Regions from separate parts of the Homo sapiens genome. Here regions 2 and 3 are each linked to region 1. The links are contacts of gene promoters, found by promoter capture Hi-C in human tissues and cell types (Jung and others, 2019). All regions are on one chromosome and are shown on one strand. The core of a region is centred on a gene start or on the middle of the fragment in contact, and the rest is flanking DNA. Distances in the headings are between cores, read along the strand shown. Region 1 holds the start of MAVS (mitochondrial antiviral signaling protein). Region 2 overlaps ATRN (attractin). Region 3 overlaps RNF24 (ring finger protein 24).

Region 1 (3,774 bases), core at 630-3,129:
GTGGCTCATGGGCCAGGTGCAGTGGCTCACGCCTGTAATCCCAGCACTTTGGGAGGCCAAGGTGGGTGGATCACTTGAGGTCAGGAGTTTGAGACCTGCCTGGCCCATATGGTGAAACCTCGTCTCTACTAAAAATACAAAAATTGGCCGGGCGTGGTGACATGCGCCTGTAGTCCCAGCTACTCGTGAGGCTGAGGCAGGAGAATCACTTGAACCCGGGAGGCGGAGGTTGCAGTGAGCCGAGATTGGGCCACTGCACTCCAGCCTGGGTGAAAGAGTGAGATTCTGTTTCAAAAAAAAAAAAAAAAAAAAAAAAGAGAAATGTGGCTCGTGGGTCTCAGGAACTGGCTTCTAAGTATTATTTAATTTTAATTAAAATAGCTACATGTGGCTAGTAGCCATTGTATTGGATAGGACAGCTGTCAAATGTCTCTCGTTTTGGGTTTGCTTACTGTTTCCCTATGATTAGTTTCAGATCATGAGCTTTTGATAGGAATACCATAAGCATGTTGTTGTGTTCTTCTTTGTCTAAATCTTTATAAAAGCTGTTGATAGGTGGCAGGGAACCACCTAGTCAGGCAGTGGGATTGTTTGAATGCTCTTTGAGGTCCAGCAAAGACAGGAGTGATAGCTGCACTTGGAAGCCCGCTCCTACACTTTCAATGTTCTTCCTGAAAGAATTAGATATGAAGCTGCTAGAGCTGCTCCGGTGGGGAGCAGGCAGGATTGATTCTTGAACTAATCAACATTTATGCCCTCTTGGCTAAACTAGGCAGAGCTGGTTTTATTACAGTTCAGGTGTGATTAAGCATACTTTGTAAATGCTGAAGGTTGTGAAATATTCACAGGGATATAAAGTACAGTAATAAAACCTCACTTGAGGCTGGGCGTAGTGGCTCACGCCTGTAATCCCAGCACTTTGGGAGGCCGAGGTGGGAGGATCACCTGAGGTCAGGAGTTTGAGACCAGCCTGGCCAACATGGTGAAACTCCGTCTCTACTAAAAATACAAAAATTAGCCGGGCGCAGTGGCATGTGCCTGTAATCTCAGCTACTTGGGAGGCTGAGGCAGGAGAATTGCTTGAACCCAGGAGGTGGAGGTTGCAGTGAGCCGAGATCGCGCCATTGTACTCCAGCCTGGGCGACAGAGCATGACTCTGTCTCAAAAAAAAAAAAAAAAAAAAAGAATAGAAGACCCTGTGCCTGGAAGATCGTAGGTGCTCAGTAAGTGCTGGCCTCTGCCCCAGAAGGGGAAGGGCGAGGCAGATGGCAGGAACTGCGGGAGGTACCTGTCCCAGGCCCTTGGGCGTAAGAGGCCTCTCCCACGCAGCACCCAACCCATACCCAGCCTGCCCGCCAGCCAACCTTGGCGTCCCTGCCTTGCGCCTACCTACCCAGCAGTCCCCCGCCCGCTCCCACTCCCACAGGCCCAGCGTGCACGTCTCCAGGATAGGCATCCTTGCCCCTGTGACTTCAGCGGCACCCAACGTTTATTGGGCACTAACTGTATGCCAGGCCATGGGGGTGCCGGAGAGAACGACACGAAGACCCTCACCCCTCAAAGTTCCCAGGGGGAGGAGGGGCTGCTTCACTTGGGAAGCGTGGGGATGGAATTCTCAGCCCCCCGATGACTCCGAGGCCGGCCACCTGCCTGGTTTCTGGCCGGACACCGGACTTCCCCTGGAAGTTGCTCGAGACTGCGCGCCCCCAGCAAAAAATCAGGTCGGTTCTCCGAGCCCAGTCTAGCGCTTCCCGACCCGCAAACCAAGGCCCAGTGACCGTCCCCGCTGCGCAGCCGCCTGCGTCGCCAGCCAACCACGCGCGGCCGAGTAGCCCCGCCCCTCCACATGGCCAATGGCCGCGCGCTCTGCCCGCCCCGCCTCCTCGCTGCGGGAAGGGTCCTGGGCCCCGGGCGGCGGTCGCCAGGTCTCAGGGCCGGGGGTACCCGAGGTAAGATCGCTTCCCGGGCGTTGGGTCCTTTCGGCTCAGCACGCACGGACGCCTTTAGGGAAGGTGGCTGCAGCGGCAGGACGGAGTCCGCCGGGACGCCCTGGGTCTGGGGTGCGCGGGGGGCCCAGGAGGGGACAGGACGCGCGGGGATCCGGAAGAGCGGGCCCTGTCGCAAGAGTTTCGGGAACACTGAGGGCTCCAGGCGCCGCATCCAGCATCCGGGGAAAAGGGGGTAGGTGGCGCTGGGCGTCTGCTCAGGCTGGGGGAAAGGTAGGGCCAGAAGGGGACGGGCAGCGGCCGCTGACCTCCTCCTGCCGCCCGCGGGCCCAGGGTGACGCTAAGGTGGGGCCGAGCCTCGACCGGGTGCGCCTAGAGGTCGAGTGCTGCCGCCCTCCGCTGGGTCTGGACAGTTCTCGGCGGCGACACCAGCTCAAAACGGCCTCCCCGCCCTCCGCGGACCTGGGTCGCGCCCAGGAATCCGATCCAAGGCTGTGAGGCCTGTCCCTTTGGGAAGGGTGGGTGTTTATTTCCGGGATGCACTCAGAGCCTCTGGACAGTCAGGTCGGAAACTTTGCTGTATTGGGAACACTCTGTCACCTACTTCCTTCTCAGTTGGGAAGGAAGTGCCAAGAAAACATGAAACAAACCAAAAACACGAAAAAGGGATTCTCTGTATGGAAGCCGTGAAGCCTCAAAAATATCTAGGAGGACAGCCAGCGACCTGGGACCTGTGGCAGCCATGTGAAAGCAGGGTTAATGTCTGGACTAAATGTTGCTTCCACCTAAGTGCACCCTCAGCCTCCCTCCCGCCAAGTGACCTTGGGTCCTCTTTGGGCTTGAAGGCAGGTGGCTGTGTGGGTCTCGCTGCAGGGGTCTCTGTGCCCTGCAAGGTGTATGACCAGTTGCAGTGAGGCAGCAGGTTTTGGGTTCAAATCCTGTGCTAGCCTCTGGCCAGCTGTGCACCTTGGCAACACTTTCCCTGTCACGGGATTGGGGAAGGATTAACTGAAAGAACCTTAGGATGTGCCTGTCTACAATGGGCCCTCCATAAATGTGAACAAATGTGGGCTTCCTTTCCTTTTGTTTGGGCCACATCATCCCTTCCCCTCCATCTGTGGCTGAAGCTGGAATGCAGAAGAGTGCCTCATCTGACTGCCTTCTGGTACCTGGCTGATGCCATGAGAAAGGAAGGAGAAAGGGGTCTTTTTTTTTTTGAAATGGAGTCTCACTCTCTTGCCCAGGCTGGAGCGCAGTGGTCCAATCTTGGCTCACTGCAACCTCTGCCTCCTGGGTCTAGAGATTCTCCTGCCTCAGCCTCCTGAGTAGCTGGGACTACAGGTGTGTGCCACCATGCCTGGCTAATTTTTGCATTTTTAGTAGAGACGGGGTTTCACCATGTTGGCCAGGCTGGTCTCAAACTCCTGACCTCAAGTGATCTGCCTGCCTCGGCCTCCCAAAGTGCTGGGATTCCAGGCGTGAGCCACCGCGCCCGGCCGAGAAAGGGATCTATTAACTCCCATAGAGTTGTTCTTTGCTAATTTCTTGAAGGCTCAGAGGACCCCCGCCTCACCTTCCTGATTCTCCTGACCTGTCATTAGTACTTGCCCCACGAGGAATGTAGCAGGGCCTGCTGGCTGGCAAAGCAACTCATGCATGTGAGGCTCTGAGGCCAGTGACAGGACTGCTTCCCCTGTGAGGAAGGTCTGGTGGCCCAACAGCTTTTAGGTGCTGTCTGCTCTACAGCACTGCCTCCTGAGAGAGGTCTCATGCCTGCCTGATGCCCACTTGGTCCTCTCCTGCCTCCTTCCCTCCCTGACAACCCACT
Region 2 (3,774 bases), core at 462-2,961, 200 kb before region 1:
AGAGGCGTCCCTGCCGCTGCCCTTGGCCCTGCAAGCACATCATGACCCTTTCTGGCAGCCTCTTGGTGCTCTGGGTAGTGAGGGATGACCAGTCTTGTCCTGAGAAATGTTTCTCTTAGTCTTTAAGTTCAAAGACTAACCTGTAGCAATCAGACTTTCCAAAAGGGGGTTCTCCATTTTTTGTAGTTTTGTCTAAATTTTTAATGACCATTTCCTGGAATCAGTTTATTATACTGAAAACTGGGGGTGGGAGTAGGGAGCTAGTTTGTTGATAAATAGTTCCCATTTCCCCATGGAGAATTTGACATACCCTGGACTCCTGTGTGCCTCCTGCCATCCCTGCACACAGCCTGGGGAGAAGCCTGTGCCTCCCCGTGTGGAGAGAAGGCAACCCCAGATCCCCTGAGCTAACCCGGAGGAAAGGCAGTCCTGGACAGAAGACTGTCAGCAGAAGGAAAGTACTGGACTACCCGTGGGTAAGTCCTGCCATTCAAGACTGGAGACACCTGGGAAATAAAAAGAGCAGGGCACTGCTGGTGGGAAGAGGCATTTTACCTTCCAGTGCAAATCCTGCTCCTTTGATTTAATGGGGTGTACTGGGGCCAGGGGCTGATTCACTTCCTTGGGAGATGGTGGTGTTTTCATGAACATCTTTGATCCTTCCATTTCATTTATTCATCCATCCATTCAACAAGTATTTGCTAAACACTAACTTAAGCTAATGCTAGGGTAGTGACTGAGATGTAAAAATAGATTTTAGAATTAAAACAAAATCCAAGTCCTCACACCCCTGTCATCCCAGGAGATCTTTCCTTGTGGTGGTTTCTGTGAGAATTGGCCATCCTGAGGACACAGCCAGGACGGCAGAGGCCTCCTGGCCTCAGGGCATGCCCTGCCTACCTTCTGAAATGTTTACCCCATTGACCAAACTTGGCTCCAGCCATTGCGGTGGTTTCTAGATAGCCAGGCCCACCAAGAGATATTGCCCCTTGATGAGAGTCAAACACCCTGCCTACAAGGAGATGTTTTGAAATGGAGAGGAAAATTGGCACCTCATCTTTTAAAGGCAGTAATGGAATTGATTTTCAGTAACTGAATTTGTGCACAAAACATTCTAAACACTAGTGAAGCCTGTTTCGTTGAACTAATTCTGGCTCTGGAAATGTTTTTGTTTTATAGTTATTTACGATTTCGTTTGTTTGGATTCAAGCTTAGTTTGTTAATATGTATAATTTAGCATCTATTACACTCATGTAAATATGGAGTAAGTATTGTAAACTATTTCATCGCGGGGATTGTGGGTGTTATACATACATTTAGGACTGCAATTTTTTGGTATTTTTTGTATTGTAAAATAACAGCTAATTTAAGCAGGAACAAGAGAACTAAGGGAGGTCTGTGCATTTTAAACACAAATGTGAAGAACTTGTATATAAACAAAAGTAAATACTATAATACAAACTTCCTTCTGAAATAAAAGTAGATCTGGTAAAAATGTGGCTTTTGTTCTGAGTGTTTCATTTTGATTTTGCATTGTTTTGCCTATATTTACATTTTGGTCATTAGAACCTTAAGGGAAAAAAAAAAGCGTTTACCAGTTTTCAGACTGCGTCAGAGGGAGCACTTGACAGTTAACGGAGGTGAGGGTGAAAACCCCTGGCAGGTACCTCAGACAGCCCTCCAGGCAGCTTGTGAGCCACAGACCTTCCACACAGCCTTTGTGTGCCTACAGGGCAGCTGGGCCCGTGGGGGCAGGGACAGATCTGAGCAGTGAGGTATGGACAGCCGTCTCACTGCTCCACTAACCACACCACTGTCTCCAGTGGTGCTGTTATCCCTCCACTTTGCGCTCTCCTCACAGGCTCCTGAATGTCCTCTAGGTTGTCTCCAAACTGCTAAATCTCAGGTGTGCTGACAGGTCTCAGCCGTGGCCAGTGTTTTCCTCGGCCTTGAAGTTTTGAGGAAGTTACTCCCATTGGCAAGGCCTTGTTTGGGGGCCTCCTGTGTGTCCTGCCCCCTTTTATTTGGCTCCTGCCCTCAGAATGGGTCAGAGTCATGTATTTCAGTGCAGAGTGCAGATTCCCAGTGCTAGCAGTTCCTTCCAGAAGGATGAGGTCATTGAAAGAAGGAGGAAACACAAGACGGTCACTCCTGTAGGGGAAGATGGCAGGGTACTAGGGCCAGGGCCTGAGGTGAGGGCAGGAGCCTGGAGGAGGCCTGCCTACCAGAGCTCAGGTCTGGCTTAGGGAGGGAAATGGCTGGACTAGTGGCTGCAAACAAGTTGAGAAGGACCTTGAAACTCTTCCAGGGAGGGTTATGAGAGCCACCAACAGTAACAGGATAGAAACCCTGTGATTTGGTGGTACTGTGGCAGAGACAATGCTGTGTTTACCAAACCTACTGGGCCCACAGCTCATCATTTCCCAGCCTCCCTGCAGTTAGGTTGGGACCAAGCTAAGCCATGGCCAAGGAAAGGTTGGAAGAAGTGATGGGCACCAATTCCAAACGTGGCACACAAATGCTCCCACAGGGGACTCTCCTACGGATCACATGTTAAAGACTGGAGGGACTGTGGGTCCCTGAGTCACCCCTTAGAGGCCGGCCGCCTGATCAGTAAGAGCTGTGCTGGCCTTTGCATCACTGGAAAGCAAACTCACTCTGCTGATCCACTGAGATTTGGGGCTTTGTTACACTAGTTAGCTTTTCTTATTCTCACTAATATACAAATCAGCACTTTGAAGTGCAGTGCACATGTAACCAAACCCTTAAGTACATGGCACTGGCTCAGCGTGTGGCCAGGTGGCGAGCAGTGATAAGACAGGTGCAGCTGGCAGGACAACTGAGGTCCCTGCCAGGCGGAGCAAAACATCTGGTAAGGCCGTTTCACTCGATAACTCGGAAAACAAACTCCATGTCTGCTGACTTTTTGACTTGAGGGGAATAAACAACAACAACAACAACAAATATGTGTTGATTGTTACTGGCTGCTTTTGGCGAGGCATCACGAGAAAAAGTTTACTTCAAGAAAGAATTAGCCAGTTTACAAGCAGAAGGGAAAAAGATGGAAAGATGTTAACCAGGGCCTTGCAATTCTGGAAAAGCCAACTGCTTCTAGTCTCCAACCAGTAAGAGGTGCAGGTGAGCAACAAAGGCCCCATGAGACTTAGTTGAACACAGTGACTGGGCCTCATGGTGACCATCCAATGAAGGGTGTGGTCTTCCCACTGGAGCATGGAAACTGCAAAGCCACCAGCTTGAGGGAGGGGCACGTGGTTAAGGAAGCAAAGAAAAAGCTGACATGAGAACTGTTTCCAGGAACAAACCATGAATGTAGTCACTGACCCTGGACCTGCCTGGAAATAAATAAAGATGTAGTAAATTTAAGAAACCATTAGCAAAGCCTTAAAAAAAAAAAAAAAAAAAAAAAAAAACGGTGGCAATTGAGGAAGTCTTAAATCCACCTTCAGGCAGGAAAATGGTTGTGAAAGCTGTGTCCAGCGAGGGCTTTACAAGCTCAGATGTGGGCCCAAGAGCAGAACTGGGCCTGAGCGAGGACTCCCCCCAGCCCAGGACAGGGCCCAGCAGGATTGCAAAAACACCGCAGAGCAGCAATTGCTGCATCTGCACCCGCTCCTTCCTGGGTAGGAGGGCCTAGGAGGGTGTCCTGCCTGTTCTCATCACTACCTGCTGGGTGGGAGGTGGATTAAGCTGTCTTGTTAATTCAGGATTGTGGACTTCAAAGAGCCACCTGAGGGAGGCTGCATCACCTGGAGG
Region 3 (3,774 bases), core at 781-3,280, 130 kb after region 1:
AGGAAGATTCCACAGAACAGAACTCTTAGAGGCCACAATACGTGACTACAATGTGTAAAATTAACTCAACAATAAAAAGATAAACAAAAGGAAACTACTTATAAATTCAAAAAATAATCTTTAAAATGACTTCAGGCCAGGTGTGGTGGCTCACAGCTGTAATCTCAGCACAGCACTTTGGGAGGCCAAGGTGGGTGGATCACCTGAGGTCAGGAGTTCAGACCAGCACGGCCAACATGGTGAAACCCCGTCTCTACTAAAAATACAAAAATTAGCCGGGTGTGGTGGTGGGTGCCTGTAATCTCAGCTACTCAGGAGGCTGAGGCAGGAGAATCCCTTGAACCCAGGAAGCAGAGGTTGCAGTGAGCAGAGATTACGCCATTGCACTCCAACCTAGGTGACAAGAGTGAAACTCCACCTCAAAAAAATAAATAAAATAAAATAAAATAAAATGACTTCTGTCTAGTAAGTAACTAAAACAAATCACAGACCATTTAGAAGTTAATCACATTGTGGGAAAAAAATCTCATACTGAGAGAAAAATCCATTACCTTCAACATGGGAAAAGTATTCTTACAGGCTACTGTGTAGGTGTATAAGTGTAACTGATCGTATTATCAATCTAAAAAAGAATAATGAAAATAAATGGACACAAGAATTCAATTCTGGAAAGTAGAAAAAGAACAAATCAAACAAAATAAGCCAGAAGAAGGAATTAATAAAGGTCAAACAAAAATGTATGAATTAAAACAAAACAATGAAAGGAATTGAAATCAACTAACCAAAACACTAAGAATGAGACAGATAAAAAAATTCTTATGCAGAGATTTAAAAACATCCATGAGATAATTTGAGTATTAATTTTAAATTCTAGAATAGATTTTATAGGAATATAACCAAAACTGGCTCAAGAAGAAAACTTGAAAATATAGAAATATCTTCACAAAAAAGGCTTCAGACCCCAATGGCAATGAAAGTGGAACTCGCTAAACTTGCATAGATAAGTAGTCTGCTATGTACAGTAGTCCCTGCTTATCGATGGTAGATATGTTCACAGACCCCCACTGGATGCCTGAAAACCCGGATAGCACCGAGTCCTACGTTTTTTTGAACTGATAACCAAGACCCTAATGGGCAGGTAGTGTACACAGCATGCAGACACTGGGCAGGGGATGATTCACGTCCTGGGTGAGATGCAGTGAGCACGACAGCTTGAGATTTCATTACACTACTCAGAATGGTGAATAATCGAAAACTTACAAATTGTTTTGGGAATTTTCCATTTAATATTTTCAGACTACAGTTGACCATGAGTAACTGAAACTGCAGAAAGCGAAACTGAAAATAAGGGCGAACTACTGTAAACTGATTCAGAGTATACAAAAAAATGATGGAAAGCATCCCAACTCATTTAAAGGTGTAAGCATAATCCTGAAACTAAAACCACAACTTTACAGCAGAGTTCATAAACTCAAGGCCTCTGGACTGAATCTGGCCTGAACAAGTATTTTGTTTGGCCTGTACAAAATTTTAAAGATTGAGATAATTTAGATTTGGGAGATTTAACATAAAATTAGCAATTTCCAGCTCTATACAGAAAAAGGTCAGATCTAATAACCCTGGGCTCCATTCTTACACGGCAAAAACAGCCTGGAGCTGAGTGGCCTCTGCTCCCAGGCTGCCATGTTGTTGCACAATTTGTGTGTGTGTGTTGGGGGGGGCAGGGGGAGGGGGCGGCCCTGAATGCTTATGGGTTACAGTGTAAGTGTGCCTGGCCCTATTGTCAACAGAATCGCCATTTGTCACCATTTCTACCACTCCTTATCACTTCCTAATTCTGGACCAGATGTAGGTTGCCACTTGTGCTTGGGCTGTTATTTTTCTCAACGTAAATATTTCTACCTCTATCAAAAAAAATAAAAGAAAAGAAATTGATGGTTTCATGATTTTGCCTTCTACCAAGTGTATTTGGCTGATTCAATTTCCTGCCTGGCTTCTGTTGGCACTGAGTTTGTGCCCCTGCTTTACGATTTCTATCTTTGGTTTCCCCACATCAGATGACAGAAATACCCACTTATATTCTCTTTTATTTGCATAGTTTTATGCCTTAAATTTAAATGTTTAATCCATCTTGAATTTATGGCATGGAAAAAAGACCTAAAATGGTTTTTCCAATTTAGTCAACTATTCCAACAGCATTTATAAAATTCTTTCTCCACTGTCTTAAAGTTCTACCTTTTTTGGAGTCACTTTTTTTCTTTTTTTTTTTTGAGACAGAGTCTCGCTCTGTCTCCAGGCTGGAGTGCAGTGGCACCATCTCGGCTGACTGCAACCTCCACCTCCCAGGTTCAATCAATACTCCTGCCTCAGCCTCCCGAGTAGCTGGGACTACAGGCATGCACCATCATGCCCAGCTAATTTTTTAATATTTTTACATACATACATTACATATGAATTAGCATACCACTAATTCATATATGCTAGGGCAATATTTTCAACACTACTCTTCCTCTTTAATATTTTCAAGGCTATTCTTACATAATCTTTTTTTCAGCTAAACCAGTCTTTAAAATATTCTATTGGGCCGGGCACACTAACTCACGCCTGTAATCCCAGCACTTGGGGAGGCAGAGATGGGCAGATCACTTGAGCTCAGGAGTTCAAGATCAGCCTGGACAACAGGTAAAACCCCGTCTCTACGAAAAATATAAAAATTAGCTGGGTATGGTGGTGCATGCCTATGGTCCCAGCGACTTAGTAGGGTGAGGTGGGAGGATCACCTGAGCCCAGGAGCAGTGAGCGCTAATCGCACCACTGCACTCCAGCCTGGGCAACAGGGTGAGACCTCGTCTCTCTCTCTCTCTCTCTCTCTCTCTCTCTCAATAAATAAATAAATAAATGCTATTGTGAAGTTAATTGAAAGTACATTAAATTTATAGCTTATTTTGGGGAGAATGGGTCTTGCTATGGTTTGAGTATCTGTCCCCTCCCAAACTCCTCTTGAAACCTAATAACAATTTTAACAGTATTAAGAGGTAGAGGGTTGGGCGCAGTGGCTCATGTCTGTAATCCCAGCACTTTGGGAGGCCGAGGCGGGCAGATCATGAGGTCAGGAGTTCGAAAGCAGCCTGGCCAACATGGTGAAACCCTGTCTCTACTAAAGATACAAAAAATTAGCCGGGCCTGGTGGTGCGTGCCTGTAATCCCAGCTACTCGGGAGGTTGAGGCAGGAGAATCGCCTGAACCCAGGAGGTGGAGGTTGCAGTGAGCCGAGATCGTGCCATTTTGCACTCTAGCCTAGGCAACAGGGTGAGACTCTGTCTCAAAAAAAAAAAAAAAAAAGAGGTGGGAGCCTGCTGCAGTGGCTCACACCTATAATCCCAGCACTTTGGGAGGCCAAGGTGGGAGGATCCCTTGAGCCCAAGAGTCCCTGACTAGCCTGGGCAACATAGGGAGACCCTGTCTCTACAAAATTAAAAAAATCAGTAGCCAGGTGTGGCGACACATGCCTGTGGTCCCAGCTACTTGGGATGTTGAGGTGGAAGGACTGCTTAGGCCCGGGAAGTCAAGGCTGCAATGAGCTGTGATTGTGCCAATGTATTCCATCCACCCTACATGACAGAGTGAGACCCTGTCTCTACAAACAAAGTGAGACCTTTAATAGGTGATTAGGCTATGAGGGATCTATCTTCATGAATGGATTAATGCCATTACCAAGGAAGTGGGTTCCTTATAAAAGGAAGAGTTCAGACCCCTTTTGTGTTTGTTTCTCTC

What was found. Contacts are between HindIII fragments. The study calls those that stand out against the background at their distance.
Region 2: a fragment that was not itself captured here is called in contact with the fragment with the promoter of MAVS in region 1 in 1 of the 25 tissues and cell types used here (liver).
Region 3: a fragment that was not itself captured here is called in contact with the fragment with the promoter of MAVS in region 1 in 1 of the 25 tissues and cell types used here (aorta).

What each region holds. Positions count from the first base shown.
Region 1 is chr20:3,844,955-3,848,728 of GRCh38, forward strand. It overlaps MAVS (mitochondrial antiviral signaling protein), which reads left to right and starts at 1,880. Exons shown (of 7, transcript NM_020746.5): 1 at 1,880-1,949. RefSeq lists silencers at 1,297-1,346, 1,777-2,156. The HindIII fragment of the contact is 19,994 bases long and covers 1-3,774 here.
Region 2 is chr20:3,649,624-3,653,397 of GRCh38, forward strand. ATRN (attractin) reads left to right here. Exons shown (of 29, transcript NM_139321.3): 29 at 1-1,495. Among named protein-coding and RNA genes, the nearest start is that of GFRA4, 12 kb to the right of the region's middle. The HindIII fragment of the contact is 6,966 bases long and covers 1-3,774 here.
Region 3 is chr20:3,979,255-3,983,028 of GRCh38, forward strand. The region is part of intron 1 of RNF24 (ring finger protein 24); the gene reads right to left. Among named protein-coding and RNA genes, the nearest start is that of RNF24, 34 kb to the right of the region's middle. The HindIII fragment of the contact is 6,490 bases long and covers 1-3,774 here.